Regions from separate parts of the Homo sapiens genome. Here region 2 is linked to region 1. Evidence: promoter capture Hi-C in 16 types of primary human blood cells and fetal thymus (Javierre and others, 2016). All regions are on one chromosome and are shown on one strand. Each heading gives the region's core, a stretch centred on a gene start or on the middle of the fragment in contact. The rest is flanking DNA. Distances are from core to core; before and after follow the strand shown. Region 1 holds the start of PIWIL1 (piwi like RNA-mediated gene silencing 1). Region 2 has its middle 32 kb from the start of LINC02419.

Region 1 (5,445 bases), core at 2,686-5,185:
GGAACTAGGTCAAAGCTTGCTCTGAGTATGTGGTTTTCTGCTTTAAAAACTTGGGAAACTGATTGGTTACAGAATATAGTCCAAAGCTCTGGACACAGCATGCAGGGTTCATGATGAGTTTCTTTTCCATCTAGTCCCTGTCACCCCCAGCATAATCTACCCAGATCATATTTTCAGCTTTACATGAAGTAACTTGGGATTTTTCTGTTCTCTGAGTATCTTCCATTGTTTCCCTTCCCTGGGATGCTCCTCTGCCCAACACTAGAGAGCACTGGTGGCCATTCCTAAAAACGCACCGGAAAATGTCCAAGTTTCCTGCTCCCCTTTAAAAACGTTTGAGCTGTCCACCAATGGATGAGTGGATAAACAAAATGTGGTCCGTCCAAACAGCAGAGTAAGATCCAGCCGTAAGGAGGACGGAAGCTCTGACGGGCTACGACGTAGGTGAGCCTTGAGAATACGGCGCTGAGTGAAAGAAGCCAGACACAAACGGCCACCTAGTGTATGACCCCGTTTCTATGAAATGAACAGGAAAGGAGACAGAAAGCAGATTCGTGGTTGCCAGGGTAGTGGGGGGAAGAGGGAGATGGAGAGTGACGGTTTTATTTTGGGATGATGAAAATGTTTTGGAACTAGAGGTGGGGGGTTGCGTAACATTATGAACGCATTAAATATCATGGAATTGTTCACTGTAAAATAGTTAATGTAGTGTTATGTGAATTTCACCTCAATTAAAAAAACAACAACAACAACAACCAAAGCCATCATGTGAGGCCCAGCAAATCTGAGCCCTCATTCTCTCCTGGTAACTGGCTAGGACTAAGCAGCCACTGGCCCTTCAGGTCAGCATCCACGTTCCCAATTGTCACACTCCCTGCTTCCCTTGTTGGGCCATCAGCGGGAGGGCAGAGTGTGTTTTATTCACATCAATGGGAGGACAGAGTGTGTTTTACTCACAGCACTTAACAGGGTGCGTTCGGCAGTCCAGATGCTCACATTTCCTTGCTCGCCAACTTCTAGAACCCGGTCTGTCCCTTCTGCAGCATCATCCCCTACGACTCCCCTGCCTGTGCCTGGCGTTGCTCCCGTGCTGGATGACTTGCAGTTTTCTAAACACCTCACATGTGCTCAGACCAACGTGCTCCGCCATGCCGATCCTCCTGTTCCCTGCAAACCCAAATCAGCCTTCAGGGCTTCAGCAGCGTTGAGTCACGAAGCATCCCTCAGCAACCTCCCGCTGAGCACCCACAGGATTGGTGGCACTCTGCTCACCTTCCCTGGTGGGTACACCCCTCTAGAGGCGGCTCCCGGAAAAAGAATCTGTAACTATTCATTTTTTAACTTCCAGAGTCAGGCACGAAGTTATACCTAGCAACGGATCCCAGAAGGGGTCCTGGTGGTGCTGTCAACATGGAAATTTTAAAGGTCACATTTTTTTTTCCTTGAATTTCTTTTCAAATTTTCGTTGAGTTTTCCTTTTCAAATTTTAGGTGAGCTTCTTGCGACATGATGTTTACACTCTCAGAAGAATGAGGGGTTTTGCCTCTGTCTTGCTATATCACAACTTATGTCTTTAGAAACTATTTCATACTTCACACACCAAGACACTCCAGCGATGTTCTTTAGCAGAGGCAAGTAAGGAGTTTAGCATATAGAGAAAATAAAGCAGAGGGAAAAGTGTTACTTCTATAGTGTAAGGTGCATTCACGGTATTTTTCTCCCGAGTTGAGGCTGTAAACATCTATTTCTTGTTTTATGGCTCCATCTGCTGGCAGGTCTCAGAATGTCTTTCTCATCAACACCTTAAATCCTTGGAAAAGTTATGTTCACATTGTATTCCAAAAGGCACCATTTAGTTTTTACAAAGCGAAAGCCTTTGGAAAGCTATTTTTCTTTCAAACTACTGGCTTCCAACGCCTTTTGGCCTCGCCCCAAATTTATTAGCCTTCTCTGAGCATAAGAATAACTTGATGTTACTTCTTGAAATTCCTTGCACCCGTCCCAGACCTCCTGGAATCAGCGTGATCTGGGAGTCTGTATTATTTGGAAGTTCCCTCAGTGGATGCTTACACTCAGGCTAGTGTGGGAAACGCTGACATCTAACCTGCCCCTTTCATGGCACAGATGAGACGTAGGATTTGGGAAGGTGGCTTGGGGAGCCTTCAGCCCTCTCCAGCCCCCGATTCCCAGGCATGCGCTTTTAAGTATGAATAATAAGCAATATGTAGGCCGGGCTCTGTGGCTTATGCCTGTAATCCCTGCACATTGGGAGGCCAAGATGGGTGGATCACTTGAGCCCAGAAGTTTGAGACCGGCCTGGGCAACATGATGAAACCCTCTTTCTACAAGAAATACAAAAAAATTAGCTGGGTGTATTTCTCGTATTTCTACAAGAAATACAAAAAAATTACTACAGGTGGCACACACCTGTAGTACCAGCTACAGGGGAGGCTGAGGCAGGAGGATCACCTGAGCCCAGGAGGTCGAGGCTGCAGGGAGCCATGATCCCACCATTGCACTCCAGCCTGACAGAGCCAGACCCTGTCTCAAAACAAAACAAAGAACACAAAATTATGTGGGCATGGTGGTGGGTGCCTGTAGTCGCAGCTACTCAGGAGGCTGGGAGACGGAGGTTGCAGTGAGCCAAGATCCTGCCACTGCACTCCAGCCTGGGCGACAGAGTGAGACTCCGTCTCACAAAAAAAAAAAAGGAAAAGCACTATGTTTACCGTATAAATGCAGTTTTAAAACCTGTCTGCAGAGGCGACCCTATTTCTACTACCTCCTACAATCATGTTTATAGTTATGGAACATAACAGGTCAGGCAGTTAGTGAGCCTCAGTCCCACTTCCACCTTGACAAATAAACCTGTTCTATCTTACAATATTTCCGGTTGTTTTGTGGCTGTTGACTTTGCCTCCATGAGGAAATTAACTCCTATGGAGGGCACCTAGCTCGGCGTAGACCCGGTCGCTACCACCTGCGATGCCTTGGAAATGCAGCCGGCGGGGCCCACCTGTGGAGCCTGCAGACCGGAATCTCTGGTCTGTGTCCTAACCAGCCCTGCAGGTGATCCCCCGCAGGTGAAGGCTGAGAACCCCTGCGGTCCACGTTGGCATGCACCCAAGGCACAAGTCATTGAAAGCTAAATTTCCAGGTAACGGCCTCCTGGCACCTTAGACTTGCATTGCAGTTTTATTTTCTTTGGGGTCAAAGTTCAAATCTCTGTGTGCTGAGTGAAAGAGCTTCCGACGTTAAAGGCCAGACCAAGATCGAGTCCACTGCTACAGTAGGGCGCTCGGTGCCCACGTGGGCACCATTTCGAAGTCTATGGAGGGTCTACTTCGTGCGCCGCCGCCCAGTTCCACGAGCTAGTAGGGAACTGGCCCGACCCCGTGTCCGCCTGCAGGGGGCTGGCACTGGGGGAACTGCAGGAGTCAAGCCAGGGAAGGCCGGGGGTCTGGGCGAAGCAGAAGAGGAACAGGGCGGGGCCTGGGTGGGGCTGGCCGGGGCCTGTGGGGAGGGGGCAGGGCACGTGTTGGGTGTCTGGGCGGGGCCAGGCGGGGTCTTGGGGGGACAGGGGCGGAGCCTGTGGGGCGGGGGCGGGGCCTGTGGGGGCCTGGGCGTGGCGTCTAGGCAGGGCCAGGCGGGGTCTTGGCGGGATGGGGGCGGGGCCTATGGGGAGGGGCCAGGGCATGTGCGGGGTGTCTGTCCGGGGCCAGGCGGTGTCTTGGGGGGCCAGGGGCAGGGCCTGTGGGGCGGGGCGGGCCTGGCTTGTTGGGCCTGTGCCGGGTGTCCGGGAGGGGCCAGACGGGGTCTTGGAGGGGCGGGGCCGGGGCCTGTGGGGCGGGGCTCCTCTGGTCCCGCCCCGGCCACATCAGAAACCGCCGTTTGCGGGGCAGCCAATGAGGGCGTGGCGCGCGCCGCTTTCCGCCGTTACTGGGCGTATGGCGTACAGACACGAGGCCGGCGCCCGGGAGGCGGTGTTCATCCGCCCGGGAAAAGAGCGCCTGTTGCTCGCTGCCCGCGTGTCCCTGGCTCTCTCGGGAACCCAGCGCCGAAGGCGAGGTGGGCGCGGGCCGAAGGAGGTCCTGGGAGGTCGGCGGCGCGGAGGGATCTCCGCGGGAGCCGTTGGGGCTGTTGGCCTCGGGCTGAGGTGCAAGGACCAGGACTAGGGCGAGGGCAGCGGTCCAAGGTGCGGGGCCAGGCTGAGGTGCTAGGTGTGCGGGGGCCGGGATGCGGGGGCGGCGGCTGGGGGTCCGGGATGTGGAGGTGAGGCTCGAGGTGCGGGGACCGGGTTGCGGGGGCGAGGTCCCAGGTGCGGGGGATGCAGGAGCCGGGTGCGGGGTCGAGGTCCCAGGTGCGGGAGATGCAGGAGCCGGGTGCGGGGGCGAGGTCCCAGGTGTGGGAGATGCAGGAGCCGGGTGCGGGGGCGAGGTCCCAGGTGCAAGGGATGCAGGAGCCGGGTGCGGGGGCGAGGTCCCAGGTGCGGGAGATGCAGGAGCCGGGTGCGGGGGCGAGGTCCCAGGTGTGGGAGATGCAGGAGCCGGGTGCGGGGGCGAGGTCCCAGGTGCGGGAGATGCAGAAGCCGGGTGCGGGGGCGAGGTCCCAGGTGTGGGAGATGCAGGAGCCGGGTGCGGGGGCGAGGTCCCAGGTGCGGGGGATGCAGGAGCCGGGTGCGGGGGCGAGGTCCCAGGTGTGGGAGATGCAGGAGCCGGGTGCGGGGGCGAGGTCCCAGGTGCGGGGGATGCAGGAGCCGGGTGCGGGGGCGAGGTCCCAGGTTTGGGAGATGCAGGAGCCTGGGGTGCAGGGGCCGGGGTGCGGGGGCGATGTATCAGGTGTGGGGGGTGCGGGGCCGGGGGGAAGCGCTGAGGCCCGACTTGCCGGGGCTGTAGGGCCGGGGTGCGGGGGTGCAGGGGCCGGGGTGCGGGGGCGAGGTCCCAGGTGCAGGGGCCGGGGTGAGAGGCTGAGGCCTGAGTTGCCGGGGGTGCGGGGGCGGAGGTCTCCGCATTGGCGGCCGTGCGTGAGACTGCGGGGACCTGAGAGCTCTGCAGGAGGGCCTTCGGGACCTCCCGCACTACCCACGCGGCCGCGGGGCGCGATCTCTGCGGAGGGCGAGGGCCCCTTCCCGCGTCCGCCGCCGCTGCGCTGCGCCCCCGGGAGCCTTGGGAGCCGGACGTTGGGAAGAGGACGGAACTCCGGAGGACCCCAAGTGAGGCGGCGACCGCGACGGCCGGGCTCTGCGAGGCCCGGGGGTCCTCGCGGGTGCTGGCGGCCCGGCCCTTGGCACCTGTGGAGGGAAAGGGGCGGCGGGGCGGTGGCGTCCTGGGATGGATGCTCTCGCCGTCTTCAGCCCCGGCGGCCTCCAGGGCAAAGCCGGCTGCACCCCTGCGCAGCCTGTTCTCTGAGCGCTTTTCTTTTCGTTTTTAAGTTGTGGCCAGAGAG
Region 2 (5,637 bases), core at 1,386-3,885, 230 kb before region 1:
AGAAATTGACAGTCCAGAACCCAGAAGACAGCTCTCACTAGAATCCAGCCTAGCCAGCTCCCTGATCTCAGACTTTCATCCCCCAGACCCGTGAGGAATAAATGTCTGTGGCTCCTAAGCCAGGTAGTCTGTGGAGCTTTGCCTTAAGGGCCAGAAAGGACTGATGAGATATGTCGACTCCCAGAGCTGCACCGTTAAAAGACAACATCAAAATCTGAAGTCCCAGAGCAGCCTGATGAGACCTCAGCCCAGCCCAGAGGACAAAGTAGAAGCTGTCCTTATGGCATTTGGTAAATAAAGACATCAGTGCAAACCGAAGCACTTCAGAAAGATTTCCTAGAAAAGGCAGGAACTAGGCTAAGCCTAGACTATGTTGCTTTTGGATTATTCACTGAGCCTTGCTCCCCAGGAATCTATCTTGCCAGCCTGAATAATAAACTAGCTCTTTCCTCAAAACTATTTGTGTCTGGGCACTGCTGTTGCAATAGACAAAGAAGCAAAGTCCATTTTCTAAGGAAATGTTGACTATGAGAATAATTCCATTTAGGAGCAATCAGAGCCATCAACCTCTGGCTAGAATTCTACTCGGAACATGAAGATCTTTTAAAAATTTGCCTCTAGGCAAAAATAATTCAAGTCAAAGGAACCATTTGGATGCATTCATCTGTTCTCTTCCTCCCTACCTCCAGTCTGCCCCTCTCAAACCACACATTCTTAAAAACACCTTCCCAAATCATTTTCAACTGCCTCCATCTATCCCCACCGGCCTTTATGATCTTTAGACATGCAACCAAATGCTGCTCCCATGGCAACAGCCTGAAGAAAGTAAACTTTTAATTATGCCACATGAAAATGGAGAGCTCCGTGAGTCCTCTCTGCCTTTTCTTTTAGTGCAAATACAGTTCCGGATTCCATGGGCGGTCTTGCTTTCTAAAATCTCCAGACGTTCAAAGGAGGATGATCATCACGCTTTATCTCTAAGTGTCTTCATGGAAAGTTTGCATCTAGTGTGTTTCAAAGTCCCCCAAAGAGAAGCTTTCATATTCAAGAGCAAAGTAACTGAATTTGAAACTTTTATTAATAATGTAAAAGGCTTGCGTGACACGCAGAAGCTGGAAAAATATGGGGAAATCAGAGGAGACTTTGCTTTATCAAAGAGCAGCCAAATAAAGGTTGGGCTTGCTTCTGCGGTGGGAGGAGGGGAGAAACGCCTCCAGGGAGGAGGTCAATGTCTTTTTCTCCACTTGAGTGCTAGGACTTTGGGACTGAGGACCACCAATTCAGTCCTAGGGAATGCCTAGGCGTTTTACAAAAATACACGTGGGTATCAATTTTCAATCCAGCCCTGCTGATACCCCCTAGGGGAGCAGAGAGCCTCTCTAAATGTTTTCCCGCAATTCCCAGGCATGACCTCCAGGTTGTACCTAGAGGGAAAACGGGTCATTTGCTTCTTGTTCTTAAAGCGGCAAATTGCTCATCTTAGCAGCAGGTCACGCACTGAAAGCCCCTTGCAGAGGTCTGTGCCGGCTTCTTCCAGATCTTTAGTTTGGTTTTAGAACTTGTGGCACCTTTGATTTTACCTTGTGTTTTCTCGTAGAAAAGTTCGGTTAACAGGTGGGTACAATAACTCCATTAACTTACATCACGTTTCTCTTTTTCCCAACCTAATCTGTAATTCTCTAAGTTCTAGGAATTTTTTTAAGTCTTTGCAAATGAGAAGGAAGAAAAAGAATCTCAATTGTTATGCCATTTAATAATGGTGAGCCTACTTGTGGAAATTTAGGTAAAGGTATGATTTGGTATTTTTTTTAACCTAATAAGTATCACATCGTATTAAGAAATTATTAGATTGAGTCACAGATTTTTGGAAGAATATTTATATATATACATAATAGAATTTATATGGGTACCAGGAATATAATTCAGCCAGGGAGAGGACCATGTCTGGAGACCACCAGTCTTTTATTTCCATGTATTTCTCAAAAAGGAAGGCCAGGGGGCCTGCTCAAATCTAGACACCTTTATTCTTAACTTTTGGTTAAAGTATAACATACAGAGAAGTTATAAGTCATGAATGTGTCATCCAAAGATTAATCTCAAAGTAAACACACCTACGTACCCAACACCACTCTCAAAAAGAGAAGGTCACCGGCCAAGCACCTTCTAAATAGGTATGCATGTTGTCAAAATCACTCCCAAAGCATTTTCACCCATTGACCCTCCTTCAAACAGTGGGAATGAGAGTTTGTTTCTCCACGTCTTCACCAGACTGGTGACAATCAAACTTCTCAATCTTTACCAATCCGAGAGATCAAAAATGGTTTGTCAGTATCATCTTTTTATTTTTGCTCTTTGAGGCGGAGTCTCCCTCTGTCGCCCAGGCTGGAGTGCAGTGACGCGACCTCGGCTCACTGCAACCTCTGCCTCCTGGGTTCAAGCGATTCTCCTGCCTCAGCCTCCCAAGCAGTTGGGATCACAGGCGCCCACCACCACGCCTGGCTGATTTTTTTTGTATTTTTAGTAGAGATGGGGTTTCACTATGTTGGCCAGGCTGGTCTCGAACTCCTGACCTCAGGTGATTTGCCTGCCTTGGCCTCCCAAAGTGCTGGGATTACAGGCATGAGCCACCACACCTGGTATCCTCTTTATCTAGACTTTTAAAATGTTGAGTGAAGCTGATTTTGAGTGAAGAAATTTCTTGTGTTTATTGACTTCTGTGATACACCTGATTCGTTGTTTTGTTATAACAACAAGTAAACAAAGCCAGCCTGATCTACCCATCAGGATCTGTTTAAATAAATTATGGGAACATAGTAACCATAGATGACCTCAAATCACTTAGAAAGAATGAAGTACAACTATATTCTCCACAAAAGTACCTCCCAGATATAGATTCAATGAAGAAGGCAAGAAACCAAAAACATACAGTGGAGGATTCAATCTTGTTTGTTTGTTTGTTTGTTTGTTTTTTGAGATGGAGTCTTGCGCTGTCACCCAGGCTGGAGTGCAGTGATGCGATCTCGGCTCACTGCAACCTAAGCCTCCCAAGTGATTCTCCTGCCTCAGCCTCCCAAGTTGCTGGGATCACAGGTGTGCGCCACCACGCCTGGCTAATTTTTGTATTTTTAGTAGAGACGGGGTTTCACCACGTTGGTCAGGCTGGTTTCGAACTCCTGACCTCGTGATCTGCCCACCTCGGCCTCCCAAAGTGCTGGGATTATAGGTGTGAGCCACCATGCCCGGCCTTAATCTTGGTTTTAAAAAGAAAAAAGGATGTGTATATGCATCACAGAATTCTGGAAGAATATTCTAGAAATCGTTCCAGTAGTTATCTCTGTCAAATAGGGCAGGGGAAGGGGTGGGGGAAAATTTTCACCTTTAAATTTAAAACAAATGTATTTGCAATAGTTTTAGATTTACAGAAAAATTGTAAAGATAGTACCGAGGCTGTAAACCTATAAAACCACTCTTAAAAATAAAGTTTATTAGTTTAAATTTGTTAAAAAGTTAATACCGAGAACTCCCGTGTACCCTTTAGCCAGTTTTATTTCCCCAAATGTTATCCTCTCATCTTCCCATGTCCATTTGTCAAAGCTGAGACACCAGCCTTGGCACTCACTACTGTCTGAACCTCAGACCTCATTCCAACGTCCCCAGTTCCCCCTTAGGCTCCTGTTCCTGTTCCAGGGTCCCGTCGGGAGCTCATGCTGCAGAGGGTCATCCTGGCTCCTTCGGGTCCTCCTGACTGTGGCCACTTCTCAGTCTTTGTTTTTCAAGTTTGTCAGGCATGTTATAGAACATCCTTCAGGTGGGGTTTGTCAGGTGCTTTTCGTCACAATTAGACTGGGTTTGAGGGAAGAACGCCGGAAGCAACGTGCCCTTGTCTTCACATCATATGGGGCAGTCACGAGGTGTAAACCTTGGCGACCAGGTGGCATCTGCCAGGTGTCTCCACTTTTCCCTTTCCCTGAGCTGTGCAGAAGTGAGTCCCTAAGTGCTGGGGGAGGGGGCGTAGGAAGGGTTAGTTAAGCTCCTCCTCCCCCGGGAACATCCACTCATTTTATTTGTCATTCTTCTTTTACATTTAAACCCTTCTGCGAGGTTTCCCTTTCAACCTATGCACGTATTATTCCATAATTTAAACATATAGTTCCCCAAACAAACAAACAACTAGAAACAAATGTAAGTCGCTGGACAAAACTCAGGGGTCGGATTCCCTGGCCCTTAGCCAAAAGCAAAGCTTTCCGTTCTCCGGGAAAGAAAATAAACCCAGTCCCCTTTGAGATCCAGGGCAGGGGAGAGGAAAATGACTCGGAAACCCTGTTGTGAGAAGCACGTTGCTATCCCGGATGAAGGGCCATTTCAGCCCTAAGCTCAAAGCCGGAGCTCCGACCAGCACTCTCAGGACGCCTGGGTGCTGGCCACGTGGTTGAGCCAGGCAGGAGGAGGCGTTGTCAGGGGCACAGAAGAAACCAGAAACTCATTAGCTGGGACCCCAGCCGGGACCTTTGCCCCACTGGTGACCTTGGGAAAGCCTCTTAGCTTCCTTGGCCACTTCCGTGGTGGTCGAGTGAGGATTCCGAGTTCTGCCTGCCTGCGTGAAAAATATCTTTTGATGATTGATTAGCTAATGCTTGGAAACAGCTCCGGCACTGGAAGCCAGTTCCCCAGAAAGTGCTAAGCAGTGTTATTAAGGGATCAAACAGGAAGGCCTTTGTGTGTGATGCCAAGATGATTTTGTTAAATTATGAAACTTGCTTTGATAAACTGCCTGGAGGTGCCATCTGTGACATGCTTAATGTTTTTTTCCCCACTTCCCTGAGCTTATTGAATTATTTGTACACAATTTATTTTACTTTCATAGGGCATTAAATTACTCTGAGACCTTGAAATATTTTACAGCCAATTCAAGGCATCTGGAGGCTGTCAGGAGGGTTTTTGATGGATTTTGTCTTTAGGAGATGAAACAGGGGGAGTATTCTACAAATGAGGGAGGGCGGGACCTGTTGCATGTAAAAGTTGCTTTCAACTCTGTTTAACATGGGTGCTTTAAATTTTCAGCTGCTGCGGAAATGCTTTTATAAAATACATGAAGGAATCGAGGTACATTTAATCATCTCTGTATCTTAATCAGGAACATTTATCAAAGCCCTTTATTAGGGGAAATTTGAAATGTATACCAACGGAGAGAAAATACGATGGCTCCTGGTGGATTTATTACACTGCTGCAGCGATCCTCAAACTGAGGCCGGCCTCTGTGGTCTCTATGCCTACTCCTTCCATGAACCCCACGGGGAAGTCTGAAGCAGCTTCCAGATACCACAGCGGCATTTCATGAGTAAATAAGAATGCTATTTTTGAGTAGCCCAAGAGTTGTGCTGTTCTCACCGGGGATGCTTAACTATGACCTTGGAAAAGCTCCTCCTCGCCCTGGCAGGGGTCAAAGTCGCTAGGAGGTGGGTCACTGGCTGGAACAAGCCAGGTGTGAAAAGTCAGCGCTCGCAGGGGACCCCAGTCTTGAATGTTCACCTTCCAGGACAGCGTCTTCTGACGGGTCCTGGGCATGAGCGCCGCGCTCCTCGGGAAGCACACAGAAGTGTTTTTATTGGATCATCTGTGATGTCGCAGAGTGGGGAG

What was found. The method cuts DNA at HindIII sites, captures the fragments that hold promoters and counts their contacts. A CHiCAGO score of 5 or more calls a contact.
Region 2: a contact is called between a fragment that was not itself captured here and the fragment with the promoter of PIWIL1 in region 1, in 1 of 17 cell types (naive CD4 T cells). The highest score is 7.4, in naive CD4 T cells.

Annotation. Positions count from the first base shown.
Region 1 is chr12:130,333,952-130,339,396 of GRCh38, forward strand. It overlaps PIWIL1 (piwi like RNA-mediated gene silencing 1), which reads left to right and starts at 3,936. Exons shown (of 21, transcript NM_004764.5): 1 at 3,936-4,195. LOC101927786 (a long non-coding RNA gene) reads right to left here and starts at 2,289. Exons shown (of 3, transcript XR_242978.5): 1 at 958-2,289. RefSeq lists an enhancer at 1,060-1,229. The HindIII fragment of the contact is 10,112 bases long and covers 14-5,445 here.
Region 2 is chr12:130,100,361-130,105,997 of GRCh38, forward strand. No RefSeq gene overlaps it. Among named protein-coding and RNA genes, the nearest start is that of LINC02419, 32 kb to the left of the region's middle. The HindIII fragment of the contact is 3,205 bases long and covers 1,034-4,238 here.